Linked DNA regions of Homo sapiens: all the other regions are linked to region 1. The links are contacts of gene promoters, found by promoter capture Hi-C in blood cells and fetal thymus (Javierre and others, 2016). All regions are on one chromosome and are shown on one strand. The core of a region is centred on a gene start or on the middle of the fragment in contact, and the rest is flanking DNA. Distances in the headings are between cores, read along the strand shown.

Region 1 (4,266 bases), core at 452-2,951:
GGTCAGGAGATCGAGACCATCCTGGCCAACATGGTGAAACTCTGTCTCTACTAAGAATTACAAAAAATTAGCTGAGAGTGGTGGTGTGTGCCTGTAGTCCCAGCTGCTTGGGAGGCTGAGGCAGGGGAATTGCGTGAACTCAAGAGGGAGGTTGCAGCGAGCCAAGATCGCGCCACTGCACTCCAGCTTGGCGACAGATCAAGACTCCATCTCAAAAAAAAAAAAAAAAAAAAGAAAGAAAAAAGAAAAAAAAATTCTTGCTTTCATCCTGGCTTTCTTCTGAAACTTTCTGGCTTCCTGGCTTTGGAGGTTTGGGAATTGAAGAAAATAAAGTAAAAAACATAATAAAAACAACCAAAGAGGAAAGGTTTTTCTAGATCTAGACATCCTACTCTCCCATACAAGATTTATGTTGATGGAACAACGATGTAAAATAAGAAAATTCCTGAGATAATTTTAAAAAGAGGGCAGAAAAAACTCATAGTAGACTTCATCGAGGAATGTATAAAATGGGTAGAACCTGGAGTATTCAGTGGCAAAATCTTGGACACAGGAATACAGTAACACAACATATTGGTCTAGCAAGCACTGGAGGAGACTGAGGCGGAATTGTCCAGCGAATCCCACAAAAATGGAAATGAAGAGGTCTCAGTATCTCTAGGTGCCCGGGTCCGATGGAATACCGATGTACATACCTTTTCTAACACAGTAGCATTAGTTTATATATCAGCATTACCTCTCTTTTGTTTCAGTTGATAAGTATCCTACTGTAATCCATTCATTCACACTTTGCTTGTTCATTGTTGAAACAAATTCTCCCTGGAACAAAATTCTAGTAACCAAATACATCATATCAGGGGAAACTTCCTTACAGCAGGGATGGTATTAAAGTAAAAAGAGGAGGAAGTCCCTTCTTCAGCTCTGGCAGGGACCCGGCTGGGGAGGAAACCTTCCCGCAAGGTAGGTGATCTGCTGTGGTGACCAGGCTAAACCCACTCTACAGCTGCAGGAGGGACTGGCATCCCTTAGAGGTGAAGAGGGGAGGAGACCCACCTCCTGGAATGTGTCCCTGTGGTCTCCAGATGATTTCTTCCTCTAATAAGGACAATTCTGCCAAAGGAATGGAATGCTTCGTCACAGGCTCAATTACTCTGTCTCCGCCAGCCTACCACCTATAAACAATTCCTCAAATTAGGAAAGCGGGGAGATTTAATAAAGACATAACACGTAAAGTGTAGGAAAACTATTTGTATGGCATTCCGAGACGACTAGGTCAGAGTTAACAAGTAAGGAGCAAAGTAGTTAATAATACCAATTCTGTTTACCCATCACAACACCTGTGCTGAATGTCAGGGTTTAAAAAAATCTCCCAACCTTTATCTAAAAAGATAGGGCTACGTAACAATCGGTGTGGTTTTTGTCGGTAGAGGTCTAGGAAGCCGCAAGAGTAGTGGACGCCTTGACAGCTGCCCTTCTCGCGGGCCCCGCGGCGGCGTGCCCGTGTGGTTGCGTGCGCGCGGACGGGGCGGGGCTGAGGAGGGACGTGCGCGCGCGCGGACGGGGCGGGGTGGAGCTCGGAGGGCGGACGCGCTCGGGGCCGTCTGGTCGGCAGGGGGCGCTGCGCACCCATGCCGCGCTCTGCCTGCCCCCGGGTGCTGTCCGCGGCGGTTCGATTGGAGCAGCCGCCGAAGAGCGCTTGGCGCCATTTTGAAGCGGAGAGGAGGAGGAACGGCAGGGCTGGCTGCGGAAGGGGAGGGGGGGGGAGAAGGCGATTGGATGCGGCGGCGGCGGCGGATCCCGGAGAGCCCCGGAGTGAGCGGAGTAGCGAGTCGGCAACCCGGAGGTAGGAAACAATTCAGTTAACGGAAAGAAAATGTCTCTCTTCTCTGGCTGCGGCGCTCCATTTTTCAGCGGCCGCCACTGCCGCTGTGTGCGTGTGTGTGGCAGGGCTGAAGCGCCGCCCGCCTGGGTGCCAGGCGCGACTCGCCTCCCGGCATCGGGGGCTGCAGCGGGTGGCTGCCTGGCGGTGGCCCGGGGCGGGGGTCGCGGGGCGCGGGCCGGCTGCGCGGTGGGGGTGGGGAGGGCCCCGCGGCCGGCGCGCGCCTCCACGCCGCGGGTTCTGCCGCAGCCTCTGGAAAATTAAACTTGCCGCTCTGATCCCGGCCGGGGCGGCGGCGGCGGCGGGCGGTGACCTTGCGCGCGGGCGGGGGTCTCGGGGCCGCCCGGCCGCCCGCGCCCTCCCGCCGCCGCCGTCGCCGCCGCCGCGCCCCTCCCCCCGCGCCCCGGCCGGCCGGCGGCTGTTTCCCGGGCGGCAGGCGGGCGGCGCGGTGCTCCTGTTGAATCCTCCCGCGGGCGGGCTTCTCCCCCTTCCGGGCGAGGGGCGGGCGGGGACCGCGGGTCGGGGCCGCGGGCGCTCTCGCCCCCGCCGCCGGGTCCCCGCGCGCCGCCTGGCCTCCGCTTCGGGCCAGGGGACGGGCTGAGCGTGACATTTTTGCACTGTCCCTCGCCGCTCGCCGGAGGGAAATCGCGCTCACCGCGCCACCCCGAGTGGTCCCCGAGCAGCCAGTTGAGGAAGAGCCCAGCACTGGCGTGGAGGGACTCCTCCCAGGCCACAACTGGGTTCTAGCTTTCCTTTCAGAAGGAACGGCGGGGAAAATGGTGTGCAATTGTGACTCGTTATTGTTTTTACACTGTTATTTTAATGTTACTTTAAAAGTTTTCGGTCCGGAGAAAAACCTTGTTTGTTGTTGTTGCTGCTACTGCTGTTGGTTTTTGGTAGAGACGTGAAAGCTAACTCTTAAGTAGCTCGACAGTTATTTTGGACGAATGACTGAAACCAGAAACGCCGCCCCTCGCCTTCGGAGCTGCAGGCTGCTGCGTTCCTTGCCGCGGACGGGGCGAGCTCCGGGAAGGGTTGGTAGAGCAGCTACCCACCCACTCCACGCGCGTCTTCAACAGCCTCTCTCCCCCAGCGAGGGTTAACCCTTTTTTATGTCGAAGAAAGTGCTTCTCGTACTTTTAATAAGAGGTGATGGATGGGCAGTGGTGCCCAGACTGATCCTACCCTGTTGATGAAATAGTTTCGAAAACTTTGGGTATAGCCTTAATTTAGAGGGTTGGTCTGCGGTGTGGAGAGAGTTGGGTAATCCTATACTATCTTCCTAATGAACTTCAAAAACTCAAGTTGTGTTTACATACAGGAGGCGAGCTGTAAATAAATCGTAATTACCCAATGCTTGAACGGCAGTATAGTCATTGTTCTCAGTTAACACATCCCGAGTTCCCAGACAGAACGTTTTTTATATTAACTCATGTAGTGGTCAGGTAAAGTAATTAAAAGCCACAAATATGGACTTGAAAGACAGCTCTTCATGCAGTACACATGTCTGAGATGTTCGCATCTTTAGGGACAATAAAATGAGTATTCAATGGTGTATGCAGGTCAGTTCGTGCAACAATTAATCTTGTATCTCATGGTGATAGCAGAAAACCTAATTAAAATTTGTAGTGCTGAATATGTAGGTGAAAATTACATGGGAACTTTTATGTGAAGATAGATTTAGTCTCAGAAACTTAACTGTAAAAACACATCTTAAGAACATTATTCCTTATAAATAAAATTTGTACTTAATATACATTTACAAATATGTCTAACAAGATGCACTTTAGACTTTATAAAAATTACCAAAATAGTGACTTTTTCCTCCTTTTTCTGATGGTTTTAAAAATTGTTCTCTTCTCAGCTGGCGTTTACTTAAAGGTATATTTTAAATGGGAAGGTAGTGTTTGTCTTGGCCTTTTTTCTTTTTTTCTTTTCTCCTTGTTTCGGTTAAGGCTGATTTTCCCTATATTAACTTTTCTTTTACAGCAGCTTTTGTTACTCTTGTAGGCTTTGTTCTCTCGTGTTATGTCTCTCCCCTCTCCCCATATTAGAGAGAGATGTGGTGATGATAGTGATTGTTGTTAGGAGATGTTTGTATTAAGCTTATTTGTAATAAGATTCTACCGAGTTGGCTGTTGGATGAAAGTTGTTTAAATTGTTCTGCAGCTTTGTTTAACGAAGTAACATTTTGAGCAGTAGGCTTTATCAATAATTTGTTAGGCCTAAGATAAAGTGATACTCTGTATTAGGCAGGGCTTGCCCTGGAGAGGGGTGCAATGGTAGAAAATACCCAAAACTTTGTGGGGAAGGAATATTTCGGGAAGCTGTATTCTTTCTGCTTTACCTCTTGGGAAATTTAGAGACTGCCTTAGAACTAACAGGAG
Region 2 (4,266 bases), core at 1,140-3,639, 2.6 Mb after region 1:
CCTTTGCTCTCTGCTGCTACATCACCAACTGTAAGTACTTTGCCTCCATCTAGTGGTTATATTTTATAAATACATGACTTTAGCATTTCAGTGGTGGTCTAGGCTATAAACACATTTTAACCAGACCTGTACTTTTTAGGCAAATTTTTAACCATTTAAATTTCTATTTCCACCACTTTTGTTTATCAGTGTTGGGTTCCAGCTGTGTGTGCTTATGAAAATGTTTCTCTGGTAATTCTGATGAATACTTCATCAGAAGAGTATTGCATTCTTCATCAAAGATATTGTATATCTCTTCAAATCTGTAGTATAAATAAACTCTTAAAATCCTTGTTATTTAACATTTTCATTTATTTACTGATTCAACATTTATTTTACAAAATCTAGCCTTGTCTTGATTTGTTTCTATATAAAACATTGAAATGTGTTAATATAATACATTTTAAAGGCATTTAATGTTAATTGTGTATGTCATTTAAAATAAAATAGGTCAATGTTAACTTTGTATTTTAGTTGTCATTAAAAACAAATTCTTTGATTCAGACCAAGGCAGACTCCATAGCTACTTGCTCAGATGGGAAAGAATATAGAATTTTGCTTCCCATATTACCCACGTTCTTGTTGCCGTATTAGAAACTCATCCTTAAGCTCAGAAAGCATACCTTTGCCAGAGGGAAATATTTCATTTTACTAAGATGTGCTTTAGTTGGTGAGACACTGTTTCCAAGTTGATCTCTAAGTGTATTTCATCATTAACAAGCTTTTTCTACATGACTCTTTTTCTTACTGTTCTTTTGTTAATGCCACCACCATCACCAGAGCAGCCTTGAAACTTCAACATTAGCAGCCATAGGCTATATCCTCACACACTTTCCCCAGGCCTTACTCTTCTGTTTTATTCATGAATTTGCTCAAGAAGTCCACAAAGGGAAGCATTCCAGTTCAGAAGGAGGAATGCAACAGAGCAAGTCACCAGTAGGGCCTTAATCAAATTAGCAGCTGAACCAAGGAAATGGAGCTAAGAAGAACAGTATAAATTGTTGATGGTGTGTGAAGAGTGCAAGTATACATACACCACTCCTTTTCTTTAATCTCTCTTTTCCTCTGGTGATTTATACCAAATTCTGGTAAATTGAGAGTTGTGTATGATTTTTAAAATGCTTTCTAATAGTGAGACATAGAGGGCATTTTTTTCTTCTCTTTTCTTTTCTTTTTTTTTTTTTTTGACAGAGTATCATTCTGTGACCCAGGCTGGAGCAGAGTAGGGCGATCTCAGCTCACTGCAACCTCCGCCTCCTGGGTTCAAGCAATTCCTCTGCCTCAGCCTCCCAAGTAGCTGGGATTATAGGTGTGCACCACCACACCCAGCTAATTTTTGTATTTTTAGTAGTTATGGGGTTTCACTATGTTGGCCAGGCTGGTTTCAAACTCCTGACCTCAAATGATCTGCCTGTCTCAACCTCCCAAAGTGCAGGGATTACAGGCATGAGCCACTGCTCCCGGCCAACGTGTTTTTTGTTTTATATATTGAAGACTGAATAAATCAATATTTTCTTTGTGACATTTTTCTTGATCATATAAATTGCATTTTGTTTTATAAATTATCATTTGTTATGAAGAAATTTTTAAAAGGTTGTATTGAAATTCACTTTGAAATGTAATATTGAATGTTTTTAAATTTTGCATGGAACATAAAATGCTTCTTATGTAAAAAAAACAGTTTAGCAATAAGTTATTTCAATTTGTATAGGTTTAAAATATTCACATTACTAAATAGTTTTCCAAATTTTAAAGGCAAAAGATCTTTAACTATTAAGATAGAATATTAAAGTAATGAAGTAAACTATAACATACATACTATTGCACCAGTCAAATTTGCTTATTTGTTTTATGATGATTGTACAGTAAAGATACTGACGCTTTGAGGTTGGCTTCCAAAATTATTACGATTCAATTTTGACCACTGTAGTTTGGAATTTAAAATTATTTATTACCTAGACTATCTCAACAGACTTGGGAATTCATTCAATTATAGAAACCTTTGTTTATTTTCTCAATTTCTATATTTCTGTTATTTTGGCCCATTAACTGTTTGGACCTATGCCTGGTTGTACAACATAGCTGATTTTATGTTTTTAGAATGAATTGCTTCCTTAAGAGAAATAGCCGAACCTTTCTCCCATTTTGTATCTGGTAGAACTATGATTGGTGCTGACTGCTGAATGTTGTTTTTCTATTATGAATGTTGTTTTTGTATTACTGGGTTGTATAATATTCTTGCTAGAAGTTGTAACATAGCAGAGGGAAAAAGTTGGGAAAGAGGAGGTTGAATAATGAGGGAAATTAAACCGAATATTTGGGCTTTTTATATTTAAATTTAAAGTGTAAAAAGCCAAAAGAGAATTTTGGAAGGGATAAGTGAAAAAAGGAAACATTGGCAACGTGAAGATTACTGAAAGGAAACATTGTCTTGTAGGTGCTTTTAGAATTTTAATCCTAGATATATGAAGAGAGATGGAAACATTTGAAACTAAGGTTTGAGTGAGCTGGTAATTTTGTTTATATATATATAGTTTTTCAGAATATTCTTGTGTGCATTTTATGAAGAAATAGGAATAATAATGGTTTATGGCAGTAGTTCACAAACTTTTGTGTATGGGGCCAGATGGGAAATAGTTTAGGTTTCATTGGCAGTATTGTTATCTGTCACAGCTAGTCAACTCTGCTGTGATAGTACAAAAGCAGCAATAGACAATACATAAACAAATATTTTTTGTCTGCTGTTTCTGTGAGATTGACATAGAAGTGGTCTCTTTTCTGCCCTGGAAATTTAGATGAGTACAGTAATTTATACTAGAGATAACATTTTTGTATTGCTGTTATAGTATCATCATCATGGAAGAAAATTTTTGAACTGTTTAATCTTAGTTGGAAGGTACATATCTTAATGGAAACTTAAGAAAAAAAGAACATATATATATTGTTTATAATGATAGTTTGAGCACCTTGAACTTAGTACTCTTGAAGAAGCAGCACTTTATGGGAGTTTCAGTTTTGCCCAGATTACTTAAATTCATATGTAGCATAGAAAATAAATTACAAAAATAGTTTCAGATCTCCGAGTTAGACCAATAGTTTTAACTGTACTCAGGGAAAAAAAATAGACCTCTTAGTATGTAGTTTGGCCAATCTTTGCTTTGGGAAAGCAGCATTATTTTTGTTGTTGTTGATTTTTTTAGTTGATGTTTCTGTGACTAGTTAATTGAATCCTCTCATTTATTCTCTAATATATTGTTTAACTTGGTCATAAATGAAAGTGAAAAATTGGAGAAGAAAAAGAAAAGCAAAGAACATGGATCAACCACAAATTGCACACTTTGTGATTTTAAGTTGACCACTTTAGTCAGCCATCCAGAACACTGAATATTATGGAGCTTAATTCAGGGCTTAATTTTCTCTGTCCCAGAAAAATAGTAGAGACTGACATTTCTAGCTCTCCTAATAGTTTCATAATTATAAGAAAGAAGAGCTGCTTTTTCTATTCTGTCCAAAAATAACAAAGTCTTAATTTTAGTTTATTTTTATTATCAGAATGTATCATAAATAGATTTGGAAAAATTATGAATAATGTTGTTGGTTTTGCTGTTCTTTTGTTTATGTCATAGGACTGATCATACTTTACTATTCTCAGGATGCTTTTATATGTTTTCCTATACAATGTACCATGAAAATAGCATATTTTAAGATTTATACTCACATGTACTTGTCAAAAATTAGAAAGAATAGTTGATGATTTTTATTGTGAAAACTAATTCTATCTGATATTTGAATATAATGAATATAATTATTAATGTAATAAGAATCTTAAACTTAGTATAATACCTATTTAATTACCTTTATTCATATTCAGGCCTCATTTAGTATATCAAGTTATTTTCTAGCATGGAAAAGTGGTTTATAAGTTATAATCTCTCAAATATTTTGTTATTTTATTAACTTCTCAGAATTTTCAACTATAGGAAGCTTTCTGTATATTTGAGAATACAAATTACATTATTTCCTTATAGAAAATTCTAGAGGTTGGTATAAATAGTTCATTTCCCTGAGTCATTTCTGCCTAAACCAGAATTGAGGTAGGGATTTTGCAGAGGCATTATGTTAGCTTATTTATTAAAATGTTCCATTAATTATAGGAAAAGATACTTGTTTTGTAAAATAGAGTATGCATTATTTCTAATATATGAACTATACTTATATATATTATTT
Region 3 (4,266 bases), core at 257-2,756, 2.4 Mb after region 1:
CATCGTGGAGACGGTGCTCAACCTGGTAAGGAAAAGGCGTGCTCTCAATCTGCTTCCCCAGTCCCCACATACACCGTCCCCAGCGCCTTTCCCTCCCACCCTTCACCCCCAGGGTCACACGCGCCGCGCGTCCCTGGGAGCGCAGAGCGTTCAGCCGGTATTGCCCAGCGGGTGACCTGCCTGCGCGCTGCTAGAGCCACGCCACCTCCCTCCTCTCCTCTTTCTGGTCCTCTCCTGCCACCTGAGCGCAGTGCCCAACTTAACACCGCTTCTTCTCACTTTTTAGGACCGCGAGTAACCCAGTACCCGCGGTGAAGGTTTTGGGTCGACTTTAGAGTTTAGTTAGGAGGTGAGGAGGCCTCCTGTTCTCTGGGGTTCTTTTTCTCACACTTAATTGTCCTTGGTGTCGCTCTCCGAGGATGACAGCCTTGCCCCTGGAGCCTAAATTCCCCCGTGCTGCTGAAATGTGAGAAGCGCATTAGCTTCCAACTTGAGCAGCTGGGGTGTGATGTTTTCGAAGGAGACAGAAAATGATGCAGTTTTGCATCTGTCTTTAAATATTCCAAGGCCATGATGGAGAGTGTTGTGTCTGTATCCATCCCCCTCCATCTCAGAAGCAGCCGTCCCTTCTTTGTAATATTGCCCTGAATATACTGATCTCTTAGTCATTTTTTGTGCACACAAGGTGTGTGAGGACACCAAATCACACAGGTTGATTTCTGTGGTTACTTTCAGTAGTGTGGCATGTGGGTAAAGACTAAAGGAAAGGTTTTAAACGCAGCCCTAGGTTTTGGTTCCTTTCATGGTAAGAAAGAGTTACTGCAGAAGTGTGTATGACTTAATGTTTTGCGCTATCTACAGAGAGGCTCAGAAGCGTTTAAGATGTCAGGGAAAGAAATGGAAAGAAGGAGAGGAGAATCATACATTGAGGATAATTAACAGTAGTTCATATTTAGTGCTTTGTAAATGGAGGTTTTGTTTTGTTTTGTTTTGTTTTTAAATGCAGCCAAGCTTTTTAAACAGTTTTCTCTGCAATAGATCTAGTCTTTGACATACTGTAAGGTTGGGCTTTGGGAGGCAAGACATAAATCGAGAGCAATCAGTTGAGTATTGTATTTGGTGTGGGGTCACAGGAATATAACAATATGCTTACAGGGGTACTTTGTAACACCCATGCAGTCATTTTTCAGCTAAGCAATTATTTTTACTTACTCTATTGGAAAACTGAGAGAAAGCTGCAGCTACATCAGTGGTGTCCTGAGACATGCATTAGATAATGTCTACGGTTTATGAACCTCGTAAATGCACAGAAAAGTTGAAGCTGTTTTTTTCCTTTTGCTAGTGTGTCAGGTCAAAGGAGATTATCTGTCTTTGTTATATTCATTGCTGTTTAAAACAAAACACCTCTTTTTACTTTTTTGTACCTTTCAAATAAATCATCATGAAAAGTCAGTGTAAGTTTGAGGGAATGTCACTAAGTTGATATAACCAAGTTCTTTTCAGAACACTACTAGAAATACAGTTTTCTTGAGTTTTAATTTTAACTAGCTGCAAATAAGAGGTCAGTACTTGCCATTTCTTTTTAAAAGAAGATAAATCTCAAACTGTTAGTATGTTAGCAGGTAACTGTATTTCTGTAATTTAAAGGAACACATTTTTAGTTGCAGTTTTGATCTAACCAATATCATTTTTAAGTTAGATTATATTAGGCTATTTTAGTAAGTATTCCTATGCTTACTTAATACATTTTAACCTGGTAAGAGGCAGTAGAGCTTTCACAACCTGGAAACTGATTTGAATGTATAACCAGTTTGGACTCTGCAGCAGTAGCAATGTGTGCTGAATCAGTTCTTAACAGATGGGGTTTTTTAGATATACGGTAGACTAAGAAAGGAAGTGAAATGTTTCTCTTGAGATAAAAAAGAAATTTAACTCTTCAGAGCAATGAAAATCTGACATGAAGTTTCAGTATGCAGACGTTATTTTAGAGAACTTTACCATTAAGCTTAGAGTCACTAGAAATAAAGTAATACTGAGATAGTATATCCCCAAATCTACCTAAGATTTTGTAACTGCAATGATATTTGGAATTTAAAGAGTTAGGTTTAAAATTTCTTTGTATGTATTTAAAGAATGCAATAGATTTTTAAATAGAAACTTTTGGAGAAAAGAATAAATGACAAAAGGAGCTGTTTATTACTAAGTTGTTAATTATATTAATTGTGGAGTATAAATTAGTCATTTGAAGTGTAATTTTCTTGAACTGTAGATTTAGGGCTTTATTGTCCAATACACTCATGAAAATGTCATATGAAAATTTAAGTGGATTCTCAAAAATATGTGGAAGTCATGGGCATTTAAAAAACTGATTATCAAACTTAATTCTATTTATTTAGTAAGTAAACCAATAAAATTCATATAGGACACTCAGTGACTCGTTAGAGTTTGGAAACCTTTAATATTAAATCTAAAATGATTTTTTAAAATTTTCAGTTTTAGTTTAACACATTAAATAAAAATGTAAGGTGAAATAGTGAAATACCTATTACTGTGCCCTGAATGACAGAAAAGAAAGGAGAACTAATGAAACTTCAAAAAAAAGAGGAGTTTCTACCTTAAACAATACCTTTGTCTCAGTCGCCTTTGTCAGTATATTTTTCTTTCTTTTTCCTGTTTATTTTTTCTTCCTATGTAAGGATACTCATAAATACTTGGTTTTTAGGTGCTGTTTCTCACATGCCTTGGCCAAAGAATTAAAAGCTGGGCAGAGTGAAGTTTTAAGCATGCACTAAAGTGTAGGACTTCTTCAACAGAGCGGTGGCTGTAATTTTTCTGCTTTGTTTCCCAAAGGTCTAGAGACCTATTTTTACTACTAGGTGGATTGTGGGAGTTTGGTGAGGAATCACCAATGTGATATGATATAAAATTAGTCATTTTTATTAGAGATGTATGTATTTTGTATAATGATGTTATAGTTGACTTAAAACAGTGAAATATGGAATGGATAATGTTAGGAAGGTAGGTAAATTAGTTTGTGAATAAAGTTACAGTCAGAGTGCATTGTCAAGGATTTTGCATTGTAGCTCTACTAATGAAAGAAACTGATCGTTAACAAAGTTTGGCTTCTGGAGGAATTATTTAAAGTGGCAATATAAGAGAATTTAACTACAGAGAAGAGATTTTGTTGATTGTTTTCAGTTGTAAAACTGGCGTACTACCTAATCTATTACTTCTTTTGTAAACACACTTAACATATGTTTATATAAGCTTTATCCATATTTGAAGTAAAAGCTATGTAAGTATCGTGTTATTGTTGCTTATAACATGGAAGTTTCTTTTATAAACATAAATTTCTAGAAAAATATGTTTATAATAGAGGATTAATATTTACTTAGTGAAAGAATTCATAATTTTTTTGGAATGGCTTTCTTATGTGTATAGTATAATTCTATGATTATAATTATGGAATTTAATTATAGACAAATTTTTTATGAATAACTGAATTCATGAAATTTTTTCATGAAATTTTTTCATGGATTTGTAGTTTTTTTTCATGAGTTACAGTGAGTTATATCAGTGTGTCCAGTTGTAGAAAATGATATTTCCTCTGATTTTTTTTTTTTTTTACATTCTAAGTGGCATGCTGTTGGCTGAACTGGAAGCCTAATAAGATGCTTTGAAGGGATTTGTGGTTTACCAAATTTCTCTCATCTTGGCTTATGGATCATGGTATTTTTGTTAAAAGGGTAACTTTAAGGTTTTTTTTTTTTTTGTACTTGAATATGGCAGTAACTCTTCTTCCTTAGAGTTTTTTTAAATTTGCAGCTTGATAGTCATAATTTTCATTTTAAAGATATTTAGAATTTTACAAACAAGGTGTCTTCTGCATTTGAATTATATTTATTTAAAAAATATACAGTTGCATCTTAGAATCATGGAGGTCCTTAATACTAATAAAACCACATTTATATTAAAATAATTTCCTGCATTTTAATTTATGTTGATATATAAGCCTTTTCATATTAATTTGAGTTGTATTTTATTCTCATGATTGGGTATGGAAAATAAAATTCAGGATTCATATGTAAATGCTCGAGGTTTCAATATCTTAAGGAGTTTTGAGATTTTCCTTAGAAATATTAATTTAGTCACATAATGACACTAAGGCAGCAAATATTCTGTGGTCAGTCAACGATCAAGTTATATTAATTTTAAATAAATGTTTTGTGTATTGCTAGCTGCTTTTTGGTAAATACTATGCTGCTA

What was found. Contacts are between HindIII fragments. The CHiCAGO score rates a contact against its expected background, and 5 or more counts as called.
Region 2: a fragment that was not itself captured here is called in contact with the fragment with the promoter of PDS5B in region 1 in 2 of 17 cell types (naive B cells and total B cells); the score reaches 8.8 in naive B cells.
Region 3: a fragment that was not itself captured here is called in contact with the fragment with the promoter of PDS5B in region 1 in 1 of 17 cell types (fetal thymus); the score reaches 6.6 in fetal thymus.

Annotation. Positions count from the first base shown.
Region 1 is chr13:32,584,751-32,589,016 of GRCh38, forward strand. It overlaps PDS5B (PDS5 cohesin associated factor B), which reads left to right and starts at 1,702. Exons shown (of 35, transcript NM_015032.4): 1 at 1,702-1,843. It overlaps PDS5B-DT (PDS5B divergent transcript), which reads right to left and starts at 1,695. Exons shown (of 3, transcript XR_001749808.1): 1 at 1,627-1,695; 2 at 1,054-1,172; 3 at 268-819. RefSeq lists silencers at 1,387-1,756, 1,767-1,846, 2,267-2,516 and an enhancer at 2,747-2,806. The HindIII fragment of the contact is 4,434 bases long and covers 1-3,982 here.
Region 2 is chr13:35,164,480-35,168,745 of GRCh38, forward strand. NBEA (neurobeachin) reads left to right here. Exons shown (of 59, transcript NM_001385012.1): 24 at 1-30. Among named protein-coding and RNA genes, the nearest start is that of NBEA, 220 kb to the left of the region's middle. The HindIII fragment of the contact is 3,263 bases long and covers 759-4,021 here.
Region 3 is chr13:34,943,090-34,947,355 of GRCh38, forward strand. NBEA (neurobeachin) reads left to right here. Exons shown (of 59, transcript NM_001385012.1): 1 at 1-25. Among named protein-coding and RNA genes, the nearest start is that of NBEA, 3.0 kb to the left of the region's middle. RefSeq lists a silencer at 732-821. The HindIII fragment of the contact is 994 bases long and covers 1,010-2,003 here.